3 separate regions of the Homo sapiens genome follow, and all the other regions are linked to region 1. The links are contacts of gene promoters, found by promoter capture Hi-C in blood cells and fetal thymus (Javierre and others, 2016). All regions are on one chromosome and are shown on one strand. Each heading gives the region's core, a stretch centred on a gene start or on the middle of the fragment in contact. The rest is flanking DNA. Distances are from core to core; before and after follow the strand shown.

What was found. The method cuts DNA at HindIII sites, captures the fragments that hold promoters and counts their contacts. A CHiCAGO score of 5 or more calls a contact.
Region 2: a fragment that was not itself captured here is called in contact with the fragment with the promoter of TOPORS in region 1 in 1 of 17 cell types (M2 macrophages); the score reaches 5.7 in M2 macrophages.
Region 3: a fragment that was not itself captured here is called in contact with the fragment with the promoter of TOPORS in region 1 in 1 of 17 cell types (M0 macrophages); the score reaches 7.2 in M0 macrophages.

The regions. Positions count from the first base shown.
Region 1 is chr9:32,550,585-32,554,727 of GRCh38, forward strand. It overlaps TOPORS (TOP1 binding arginine/serine rich protein, E3 ubiquitin ligase), which reads right to left and starts at 2,002. Exons shown (of 3, transcript NM_005802.5): 1 at 1,850-2,002; 2 at 190-384. The coding sequence starts at 1,852. It overlaps SMIM27 (small integral membrane protein 27), which reads left to right and starts at 1,743. Exons shown (of 2, transcript NM_001387564.1): 1 at 1,743-1,895; 2 at 2,217-2,423. The coding sequence starts at 1,851. The coding sequence ends at 2,339. NDUFB6 (NADH:ubiquinone oxidoreductase subunit B6) reads right to left here. Exons shown (of 4, transcript NM_002493.5): 4 at 2,417-3,360. The coding sequence ends at 3,292. RefSeq lists silencers at 3-62, 563-782 and enhancers at 1,062-1,776, 1,423-1,632, 1,643-1,972, 1,777-2,490. The HindIII fragment of the contact is 29,085 bases long and covers 1-2,568 here.
Region 2 is chr9:27,596,848-27,600,990 of GRCh38, forward strand. No RefSeq gene overlaps it. Among named protein-coding and RNA genes, the nearest start is that of C9orf72, 25 kb to the left of the region's middle. The HindIII fragment of the contact is 1,757 bases long and covers 906-2,662 here.
Region 3 is chr9:27,651,520-27,655,662 of GRCh38, forward strand. No RefSeq gene overlaps it. Among named protein-coding and RNA genes, the nearest start is that of C9orf72, 80 kb to the left of the region's middle. The HindIII fragment of the contact is 982 bases long and covers 1,953-2,934 here.

The sequences.
Region 1 (4,143 bases), core at 752-3,251:
GCCTGCCCGCACCAATCCACAGGTGCGCGCAGGAGCCGCTCGGGGGCCCTGGCCCTGGCCCGCCGAGGCCCGGACAGCCCCGCAGGCCATGACCGCAACCCTCGGGTCCCGAGGCGCCGCTCCAGGCGGGAGCGCCAACTCCCACGGCCCTTCCGACCCCCGCGTCCCATTGTTCCGAATCTCACTCACCTCGGAGGATGCCGGCGCAGGCCTGGCTGGGGCGCTCGCCGCGAGCTCCCGGCAGCCCAGAAAGCTAGGTCGGTGTCGGCAGGATCCGCGAAGGCGTACCCGGCGACTTCTCCGCCTACCCTCCGAAGCGGGAGCAGGCGGGGGCGCTTCACCCTCCTCGCGAGACAGCGGAGACCCCAGCGGCGGCTGCGACCCCTGTGACGCAAAGGGCTCATCACCAATGGCAGCTCGGAAGCAGGGCAGAGAGCGAGACCCACCCCCCAGCTCCCGCGCATCAAAACACAACACCCGCCTTCCTCACGCATGCGCAGCAGATGGACGCCGGCCTCGGGGGCGGGGCTCAGCGCACCGGCCCAAATGCGGCCCCTCCCCCGCCGCTCCAGACCCCGGAGGAGGGCAGCGCGACCCTCCCCATCTTGTTACTGGTACTCAGCCACTGGGGACACTGACTGAATGTTCGCCCCTAACTTACCCGGAAAACACGAGAACTAGTTCGATGTCGTTTCAACCTTACCAAACTCTGCGGAAACTTAGGAAATTATCTTTAGTGTCTAGATAGGGGAATTGTTAGATGGACTTGAAGTCTCTCACCTCCTGTTGTACGCCTCCCGGAAGCAACACCAGGAGTCCAACGGGATCCCAAACCAGAGCCCAACCAGTATCCTATAAAGTCTTCAGAGAGGGATCCCCTCCAGGCTGGGGAGAAACAGGACAACCTAACAAAACAGGGCCTGGACTCCTCCCTAAACAGACCACGTTTTTCTCCGCTCTTCCCCTTCCCACTCCCTGAAATCTAGACTAAAACTCTTTTAAGATAACTGCGAGGTATAAAGAACGTCTAGAGCCTAAGCGGCCCGTTGCCAGATTCTACTCCTCAGGCCTCAAATGTGAGCGCCCCAAACATTCTAGAGCTGAACCTGGTACGCTCGCCCACCAAACTGCCGTGCTCGGGGCTTAGTATCTCACGCGCGGCAGTTCAAGAACATCAGACACGCTCAACAAACACTTGTTGCTTGACTGATACATTATGGCGGGTAACGCGTCCCACGTATTTCTTCTTAGAGATATACATTACGCTATACGTTTCTGAAGAATGGCTCGATTTACAGGGGTTCCCACAACGATTTGTCACATATAAAAGAGTGGGTGGTATTTTTACGTCAAAGATGAACAGGCGAACGTCCATCTAAATCGTGTGGTATCAGATGCGGGGAGGCGTGGGGGAGGGAGCGGGGGAGAAAGCGTTAATTCTTCCAGCTTTAGAGCCAGACGTAATATTTAAAACGTGGATTGTTTTTCAAATTAACTTTTAAATGGACACGACAGCACCTTATCCTGCATTAATATTGCATTGCAACTAGAAAGAAAACCAGTGGAGGTACGCCTATCTCCTTAGTTGGCAAAAAAAAAAAAAAAAAAGCAATTTTTAACATTTTCTCGTTTATTCCCCTCTCTAAAAGGCGGGCAAGGCCCCCGATCACGTGATACCGCCCCCCAACTCCGGGCGGAAGAGGCCAGCGACAGCGCTGCACGAAGCGAGTGGGCGGGCGCTCGTGCCCGGCTAAAAGATGGCTGCTGGCGCCTGGCAGCCACCGCCTGGGAGGTTACTGTAAGGCCCGCAGCTCCCGCCAGCTCCCGCGGACTGCTGCCGCCTCCTTACCATGAAGCCAGTAAGTCGTCGCACGCTGGACTGGATTTATTCAGTGGTAAGTCCCGGGGATCGCGGGCCCCCACCGTGTCGACTCACTGGGCCCGCAGGCGGAAAGGCCCTATTTCTTCAGCACCCAGAAACTCCAAAATCCATTCCTGAATTAAGCATTTCACTCCCTCACCTCGACTCCGCCTCTTCCTGGAGGATACGATCTTCCGCTTCTTACGTAAGGGCTGCTGGGTGTACCCGCCACTGGAACCCCATTTATTCGACTTTGTTACTTTAATTCCCACCTTAGCAATGGCAACGGTAACCTGACGGGGGCGAGGGGAAATATCAGGTAGATTTCACACCTCCTTTGCGATTTTTGGTTTAGTTGCTGCTTGCCATCGTTTTAATCTCCTGGGGCTGCATCATCTATGCTTCGATGGTGTCTGCAAGACGACAGCTAAGGAAGAAATACCCAGACAAAATCTTTGGGACGAATGAAAATTTGTAACTCTTCTGGATTTAATTATCTGAAAATACAGTTCTTTCCCTCATGCTTATGTAGATATAAAAATAAAATTCATAATGCAAAGTTCCCAAGTTTATTTTTGCATTATCCTTTATAACAAGCACTAGTATGCAAATTTTTCACTTAGAGATTTTAGTATTTTACATTCTCATGACAAAATTAACAGCAACCTAAATCTGACAGTCTTGAGTGTCAGATCATAGTTGGAATAAGCTTTTCAATCAAGTTTCTAAATTCTTCAAAAATGATTCGGAAAGCTTTTTTTTTTTTTGAGACGGAGTCTTGCTCTGTCGCCCAGGCTCAGTGGCACTATCTCGGCTTACTGCAAGCTCCGCCTTCTGGGTTCACACCAATCTCGTGCCTCAGCCTCCGCAGTAGCTGGGACTACAGGAGCCCGCCACCACGCCCGGCTAATTTTTTTGTATTTTTAGTAGGGACGGGGTTTCACTGTGTTAGCCATGATGGTCTCGATCTCCTGACTTCGTGATCTGCCCGCCTCGGCCTCCCAAAGTGCTGGGATTACAGGCATGAGCCACTGCGCCTGGCCGGAAAGATTTCCTTAAAACAAAAGTGCATGGAATTGCTGTTCTTACATTTGTTTATTGTGATATTTCACTGTTGCATACCCTGATACCAAATTAGTGTAAGTACTGTGTAAGAAAAAAACAAACAAACATGTAACTAAATACTTTTCCATACCGTTTTCCAAGTCAAGAATGACCAGAAAAAGTAGGTAGTCTCTCATATTTGTTTAGCATGTCCACTTTTTACTTATTGTTAAATTACTCAGTCTCAAATTGTACAATGCTTGAAAACAGATATGACAATTTCTGAGATTAAACTTTATTAAAGTTACTTTTCCAGAAAATTCAGTAAATATGGTAATATAGGAACAAACTTAGGCTCATAAGCCTTTTAACTTTTTACATAATCTTTAATGATGTTGATCAGGAAATTCTTTCATTGGTGGAATTACTTCTCCAGTCTCCAGAATTGTATCACCCTAGGAAAACAAAGATACAGTTAGTACAAAAATCTTAAGTCTACAGAGGTGATAGTTCTATTCTGTTCTATGTTCATCAGATCTCACATGGAAAATGTACTTGAGTTCTGGCATTCCCTTTAAAAGGACCCTAGACAAAGTAGAAGCTGACTAAATCTGAACAATCAGTATTCAAAATTTTAAGGTATAGTGAAATAATAGGGAAATTTTCACTCAGAAACAAAATAATCAAAAAGGGCACGAAAATTGTGTTCTCTAAGTGATAAAGGGATAATCTTTTATTTTGTATGACCCCAATAAATGGAGGCCCCAGAAAGAAGTTGCAAGGAAACATCTGCAGTTCCAGATAAGGAGGTAATGTACCCCCAGCAACTGAATGTGTTACGCAATCACCAGTTTTCTGATTGGCTTACATACTGAATACAGAATACAAACTTTGGCTAGGCAGCTGGTCCAGATGTCTTTTCAATTCTTGATATAGATGTGGGCAAAAAGGCATGGGCATTGAAGCCAGAACCAAGTGGTAAGAATCTTGGAACCTCCACTGACAAGCTGTATAGTTTTAAGACAGATTATTCAATTTCAGTTTCAGCCATGTGTTTAAGATAGATTCTGTTAGCCTGCCAGTCCCTGAATGACTGGGAAGAGTAGAATTGTCCCCATACCCACCCCAATCCCTGCCATTCCCTGACCTGGTACTGCTCAGGATTATAGTCCAATGAAAAAATAAATATGTTTATGCCATTATACATTTGGGCAACAATTTGTTAGTACAGCTAGCAT
Region 2 (4,143 bases), core at 534-3,033, 5.0 Mb before region 1:
ATGTTGCTGGGTGCTAGAATTTAAAACATTGTTTTCAGCGCCCCCATTCTGACTGGTTCCCAGGGATGTAAGTCTCCTCAACACCCTGGCCAAAGCCTTACCTATTCTCTGAACCCCGCTCTGTTTTGTGCTATGGGTGGGAGGAGGGCATTACTTATTGACCTCCCTGTCCTCAATAACCTGGGTAACCGGAGACAGAGGAATCGAGCACCTCTATCCCTAAACCATCATGTTGGAAATTCCTTACTGAAGCAAGTCATTCACAGTTGTGTCTTCCAAACAGTGCAATTTCATTTGTGTGTTAGGACAGCAACTCTACTAGAAACTACTTCACATCAATAGAAACATCATTACAAAACAAGATCAATATTTCTGATTTTCATGCTTAGTGTTATTTTTTGAGAATGACCAGAAATTTTCATTTATATAGAGATATACTCTATTCTGATAATCAGAAAGAACAGATAATGACTTTGGAGAACATCAAGATTAAGGTTCCTAAGGTAAACATTTACTCCCTGGTCAATATAATATTAAAACCACTAGTACGTTTTACCTGAAAGAAAAATGAATCCATTTTTTTGGTCAACGAGTAATATAGGAAGTCCTATATCTGTTGCATTTATTTTTAAACTTCTTTTTAAGTATAAGAATACAGTACATATATGGAAAAGTATGCAGTTCATAGGTGCACAGCCTAGTCAATTATCACAAAGTAAACACATCTGTTTAATCACCATCCAGGTCAAGGAAAATACCATTGCCCACCTCACTGTCTTCAGGAAAGACCCCTGAGCCCCTTCTCTATCACTACCTTGTCCTTCTCACCAAAAGTAGCCGCTATCTTGATTGCTAAAAGGATTAATTTTGCCTGCTTTAGAATTTTATACTACATATATTCTTTAAGCTTTTAAAAGTCAAAATATCTGGAAACCACTCCTTTCATGATATTTCATCTCAGAGGTAGAATAATTATTTCTTTGTAGGTAACTCTCTGTCGGAAAGATGAATAGCTTACTCCATAAATCATTAGCATAAAAACTTATTTATAATTTACATGAGAAGTCAGTATGAAGAGTAACATTATGACCTTGTGGTCAACACAATCACACAAATGGAATTATTAAAAATAAAGATAAATGAACCATGGAATTTTCAATTCGTAATTTACCTGGTTCTCTCTGTTCCTGTCCTTCTCTCTTGATAGTAAGGTGACTTTAGCCTTTGGGACACAGTAACATTCTCTTGATTATTAAAAGTTTTTTTCTCTCTACCTGCTTGGTCTCTTGTTCATATGCAATTTTTCTCAACAAAAAGTGTTATTGTTTAGTAGTTAAAAAAAGAAATGACTTCAAAGTCAACAATATGTAGAAAGGCTTATATTTGGTGGCATATTTCAAAAATTATGAGTGACCTCAATTCTTATTAACACATGTAAGCATTATATTTACTCAATTCCAAGGAGAAATCAGGCGTAAGATGCAATGACAAAAGAAAAGGAAAGGCTGCATTGTATATAAAATCAGGTGTAGGTACAATCGAGTTTCACAAATGTTGAAATGTGAAGGGAAAAGTGCATCTTAGGATTTAGGAATAGTGCCATTTGCTGATGATATCAGCAGCGATATGGTCCAGAGGTGGCTTGATGTTATTATAATTTCCTCTAAAAATACAAAAAATAAAAATAAAAAGTTCAGGAAGTCATTTAGAAATTTACATTGATGTCCCTCAGCTGTCCCTAGAAGTAGGAACGAGTTACCCTTTAGACATAATGGGGACATTTGTGCGTGCTGTCATTTTAGGAGTTCTACAAAGCCCCACTTTCCCTCAAATGTTTATTGTCTACCATTCCTTTCTACTATCTTAAAAATCCCATCAAAACAAAACAAATAAAAGATAACTATGTGAGATGATGAATATGTTAATTTGCTTCACTACAGTTACCTTTTCACTATCTATATCCATCTTATAACATCACGTTGTATACCTTAAAAATACGCAGTAAAATTTATTTTTTAAAAAAGAATCCCATCTTTTTTTTTTTTTTTTTTTTTTTTTTTTGGATGGGGTCTCACTTTGTCACCCAGGCTGGAGTGCAGTGGAGCGATCTCCGCTCACTGCAAACTCCACCTCCTGGGTTCAAGCGAAGAATCCCATCTTTTGAATTAGTCCTTTGAACACTATTTGTACAAGATGTCTGGAAAAGGCAACTGGCTCCTGAATTTCTCCTCTAGCTTTCTCTTACTTCATTTGCATGGCTTAATTGTATATGTTAGCTAATTGTCATTATTAAAAGCACAGATCCTGACCTTAAGGGAATGAAGTGCTGGACAGATACCTCTTAATTTCCGCAACTGCAATCTCAGTTTACTGAGAATGGAAAACTCCCTCCAAGGCCTGAGAATTCTTGGTTAACACGGAGGGCATTTCCCAAGAGTGTAGAAGAGGAAGCCCAACAGGCTGAGTAAGCTATTTCTTCACCTTGTATATTTAAGTTAGAGTACTACCTCTTTTGTGTGAACTTTAGGGAGTGGTCAGTAAATGCCACTTATTTCAAATTGTTTCACTTTGGCTTGCTGGAAAGTAGATGTATTTTAGAGCAAGGTCATTTGGTATATTTGTAAAAATATACCAGACTTTCTTGATTATTTTCTTTAAATTAAGCTTACTTTTTGAAATATTATTTATTTTAAAGTAAGATTTTATATAAGTTCTCTAAATAGAATACCACTATCACTTCCCATAAATAGAAGATAAACCCATTTCCCGTTTTGGGAAATCGCTTAGAAGAATGAATTTGGAATTTGGAATCAGAAGACCGGAGTAGTCATCTCAGCTCTGCTACTTCTGTGTTTTCTGGTTCTGGGAAAATCACTTGACTTCTCTGAGTCCCAGTCTCTTCATAAAAAAAAAAAAAAAAAAAAAAAAGGGACGGGATAACAATGTCTTCTTTCTTTCTCAAAATGACATTAACTAAATCAAGCTGCAAAGGGAAATATGTGGTTCTTTTTATTTGTAAGCTTAAAGTCCAAGCAGTTATGACAAATGGGTTTCACCTGAAGTGCAAATGCCCATTTATTCCTAGTGGTTCCTGGACCCCTTTATTGAGAAGGGTTGTGATGACCTGCCCCAAGCAAGGGGGGAAGAAGGCTGCTACTGCATAGTTCACGCTACTTAACTCCTGCCTCCTCTTTACCGAGCCCTCTTAGCTCACCAGAATCTGCATCTCAGAAGCCACCTCCCATTCAGCATGAACTTCCTTTTTATAAGAGCCCCCAAAAGTCACCTCAGGTAAATCACACTCATGAAATCTCTTTTCAGCCTAAAACTGTCTCCTAAAATGAAGCCCTCCCAGGCCCTTCTAATTCTGTCACCACTTTCTCACTCCTCCAAAATAAACTGCTTTTCAGTCCAAGGAATTCTTTAGAGAGAGAAGAAGAAACAAGGATCTGCCCGTGTAATTCTGTTGTTCTATCACTTTCTTTGCTTCATTATGTGTCACAGAGGTTTAGCAAGTACTCTCCAGAGGAGGCTGGGGTGGAGGAAAAATGTGTGAGGCCTGTGGCCTAGTTACTGTTGAAGTCTTCCTAGCAGCTTGCTTAATGCTAATTTCCTAGGCTTTGCAAATAGATCCTGCAGTGGAAACTGCTACCAATAGTGACGTAGTTGAAAAACCATGGGCCATAAAAAACTATTTATGACACTTCCCCCTTTTTCCAGCTCACACTCTGGAATGAACCAGTAAACAAATAATTAACACACAAGCAAAATTATTCTTCTAGGGCTTAAGGCTCTGTCCTAGTAGGAAAAGAATACTGTAGAAGGAAACTTGACAGAGAATACTTCGGAGAACTTAAGTGATGTTTTGATGCCCACAGATTCTGAAAGCTGACATCAACATTTCTAATATTTGTCCATTACTGTTTAATATGATAGGTTAAGTGTTGCTTCAGGGAGCTTGGAATTGTTCACTTCCAAGAAGTGAGGAGGATGCTTATTATTGCTCTTATGACTTCTCTTTAGAATTTGCATTGCTTTTACCATCCACAAACTGCTCCTTGGTAATTTTTATTACTAACAAACCCATAACCTGATTGGTTTCTCTTGAAATAGAGGGTATTGTGAAGTCACTCAGGATACAGA
Region 3 (4,143 bases), core at 1,194-3,693, 4.9 Mb before region 1:
TTACAATGAGAACATGTGGACACAAGGAGGGGAACAACACACACCAGGGCCAGTTGGGTGTTGTGGGGTGAGGGGAAGGAAATTAGAGGATGAGTCAATAGGCGCAGCAAACTACCATGACACATGTATACCTGTGTAACAAACCTGCATATTCTGCACATGTGTCCTGAAACTTAAAGTAAAATTTAAAAAAAAAAAGAAAAAAACTTAAAAAAATGTTCTGCCATATGAGATTATAAGAAGGGTAGAAAATGTCCGTCAGAATAGACAACAAGTCCCAAAGCTTTTGACCTGGAAGAATGCAGCTTATTTGCTATAAATCTTTTTTTTGTTGTTGTTCCTAGAGCTTCTTTCACTGGAGCCACTTTGGGGCATTTTTGTCTTAGTGGATTCATCGATGTTCTAGGTGGCATGAGTGGGTGGGTGGGGTTGGGGATCCAAAGTTAACACCTGTCTCCTTCATGTGATAATCAGACTAATTTATCATAGCCACAGGGCAATGACAGTTTCTTGGAGGTTTCCTGGAAGTCAGGAAATAGTCTCCTGATGGAAGATGGAATTGCTTCCACCAGTAGGTACATCAGTGATTTTGTCAGGTAGAGGGGATGGCCTGATATAGCTTACAGGGACAGAAGTTCTTTACTTTTTGAAAATGACTTGGTGTTTTCAAATAGGGATAACTAGACTTAGCACCTGGAGAAGTTAATCATAAACAAAATGTACTCTAAAGTACATGTACACATACAAAAATGCTTATTTTAGAGAAGAAAAATGACTAGTGAGTTATATCTTATTTTCTCTTTAAAGTCAACCAAACTTTTATCCTTCTTGCCTGAGTACTATGTAAGAATGATGGACTTTTTGTTCTATAAAGATGAGGATACGGCCAGGTGCAGTGGCTCATGCCTTTAATCCCAATGCTTTGGGAGGTTGAAACCGGGGGATTGCTTGAGGCCAGGTGTTCAAGACCAGCCTGGGCAACATAGTGAGACTCCCAACTCTTAAAAAAAAAAACAAAGATGCGGATGGTTAGTACATGTTTTCCTAAGACAGTCATGAGCTCTGTAATAATGTTTTGGTCAATGACAGACTGCACATGTGATGTTGGTCTCGTAGATTATAATACTCGTAGATTATAATAATGGAGCAGAAGAATTCCTGCTGACATCATAGCTGTCTTAACCTCATAGTGCAATACATTACCCATGTGTTTGTGGTGATGCTGGTGTAAACAAGCCTATTGTGCTGTCAGTCATATAACAGTATAGTACATAAAATTATGCACAGTACATAATACTTGATAATGATAATAAATGACTATGTTACTGGTTTATGTATTTACTACACTGTACTTTTTATTGTCACCTTAGAGTGTACTCATTCTACTTATAAAAATAAAGTTAACAATAAAACAGCCACAGGCAGGTCCTTCAAAAAGTATTCCAGAAGAAGGCATTGTTATAATAGGAGGTGACAGCCCCATGTATGTTACTGCACTTCAGACTTTCCAGTGGGACAAGATGTGGATGTGGAAGACAGTAATATTGATGATCTTGAACCTGTGTAGGCCCAGGGTAATGTGTTTGTATCTTATTTTTTAAACAAAAATGCTTAACAAGTAAAAAAAAATAAAAACAGAAGAAAGCTTATAGAATAAGGCTATAAAGAAAGAAAACATTTTTGTATAGTTGTGCAATGTGTTTGTGTTTCAAGCTAAGTGTTATCACAAATGAGTCAAAAAGTTAAAAAACTAACAAACTTATAAATTTAAAAAGTTACAGCAAGCTAAGACTAATTAATTATTGAAGGAAGAAAGTAGCTTTTTATAAATTTAATGTAGCCTAAGTGTACAGTGTTTATAAAGTCCACAGTAGTGTGTAGTAAAGTTCTAGGCTTTCACATTCACTCACCACTCACTCACTGACTCACCCAGAGTAACTTACAGTCCTGCAAGCTTAATTTATGGTAAGTGCCCTGAACAGGCGTACCATTTTAAATCTTTTATACCAGTACTTTTATTGTACCTTTTCTATGTTAAATAGGTTTAGATACACAAATACTTTTCATCATTTTAACTGCCTGCAGTATTCAGTACAGTAACATGCTGTACCAGTTTGTAGTCTAGGAGCAATAGGCTATGCTATAGCCTAGGTATGTAGCAGGCTATACCCTCTAGGTTTATGTAAGTTCACTCTACGATGTTTACACAAATATGAAATCACCTATAACACATTTTTCAGAATGTATCCCCATCATTAAGTAACACATGACTGTACCACTCTGACATATGAATATCATGAATTATTAAATTCCATTAAATTATGACTAAGAAAATTAATGTATCTGCATGAAGAATCTATGTTAAATAAAAATATTTTTAACATTTATGTAAATAACAATGTCACTTAAAGTCAATTATGTCTTTACAGTAATAAGAATTGGGAAAGGCCCAGCTTTAGGATGTTTTGCTTTTAAGTCGACTTTAATGTATAATTAACGTGCAGTAAAATGTACCTATTTAAAAGGTTCATTTTGATGACATTCTGCAAATGTATATGACTATGGGAACACTATCTCAATCAAGACCTTTCCATGACCCCAAGAAATTGCCTCATGCCTCTTTGTAGTCATCTCCCCCATCACCCCCATCCCTGGCCTCAGTCAACTGCTGGTCTGCTTTCTGTTACCATAGATTAGTTTTGCTTTTCTCTAGAATTTCATATAAATGGAATCATATAGTACGCACTCTTTTGTGTTTGGTTTCTTTATTTCAGCATAACATTATGGATATTCATATATTCTATTGCATATATCAGTACTTCATTCCTTTTTATTGTTGAACATATTCACTATGTGGATATACTGCAATCTGTTTATGTATTCTGTTACTAATGCACTTTTAGACTGTCTCCAGTATGGTGCTATTATGAACAAAGCTTTTATAAATATTCTTGCACAAATAGTTGTATGGACATGCATTTTACTTCTCTTGACTAAACAAAGGTAGAATTGCTGAGTAAAGGTTTTTATTTAAAATTTCTCTTATGTTTGCTTTATTTTATTTATTTTAGAATTAGGTCTATTTTAGCCTCAAATAAATACCTCCTTATTTGTAATACAAACATTTGATCAAAGTTCTTCTGCAGAAAGGAGCCATAGTCTTTCTTTTTATCTTAGTTGGTGTTTAACTTCTTATACTCTGGCAGTAGTGATATGGAAGGGGAGCAAGGAAGTGCTGGGAGGAGAAGGGCAGGGCCCCGGCGAGGGCTGCACCCCTGGGCCTGTGCCCACGGACCTAGGTGAGGACAGGCACTTCTACCTTCACGCCCAAATGCTGCATTTCCCAGCACCGCCCTGGCCCGCCACGCCCCCATCCTATAAAAACCGCGACTAGCAGGCAGACACACAAGCAGCTGGACGTTGAGAGGAACACCTTGGTGGAAGAAGACACAAATGGCTGGACGTTGAGAGGATGTAGAGGGGAGCATGCTGGTGGAAGAGCACATGACAGACACTGGCACGCCAACAGGCCATCAGGCCATCGACCAGCGGAATGAGGCAGAGTTTGGCAGGGGCAGTTGGAGGAGAGCCCAGGCTACTGTGCAGCCTGACTCCAGGGGAAAACCATCTCCCTTCTGGCTCTCTCATCTGCTAAGTGCTACTTCCATTCAATAAAAGCTTGCATTTATTCTCAAAGCCCATGTGTGATCCGATTCTTCCGGTACACCAAGGCAAGAACCCCAGGATACAGAAAGCCCTCCGTCCTTACGACAACGCGTGGGTCTAATTGAGCTTACTAACACAAGCAGCGGGATGGCTAAACTAAAAGAGCACCTTGTAACATATGCCCACTGGAGCTTCAGCTGTAAACATTCACTCCCAGACACTGCTGTGGGGTCAGAGCCCCACAGCCTGCCTGCCTGTGTGCTCCCCTAAAAGTTTGAGCAGTGGGGTACTGAAGAAGCTAGCCACACCCCCATCGCACACCCTGTGAAGGGGGCAAGGGAACTTTTCCTGTTTCAGTACTCCAGATATGCTGCAATGTCTTTTGTAGTGTTGCCTATATTTCAGGAAACTGGGAGCTTAGTTTATATATGGAAAAAGGGAAGTATTCTCTGTGGTAAAGGTCATAAAGAAGAGAGC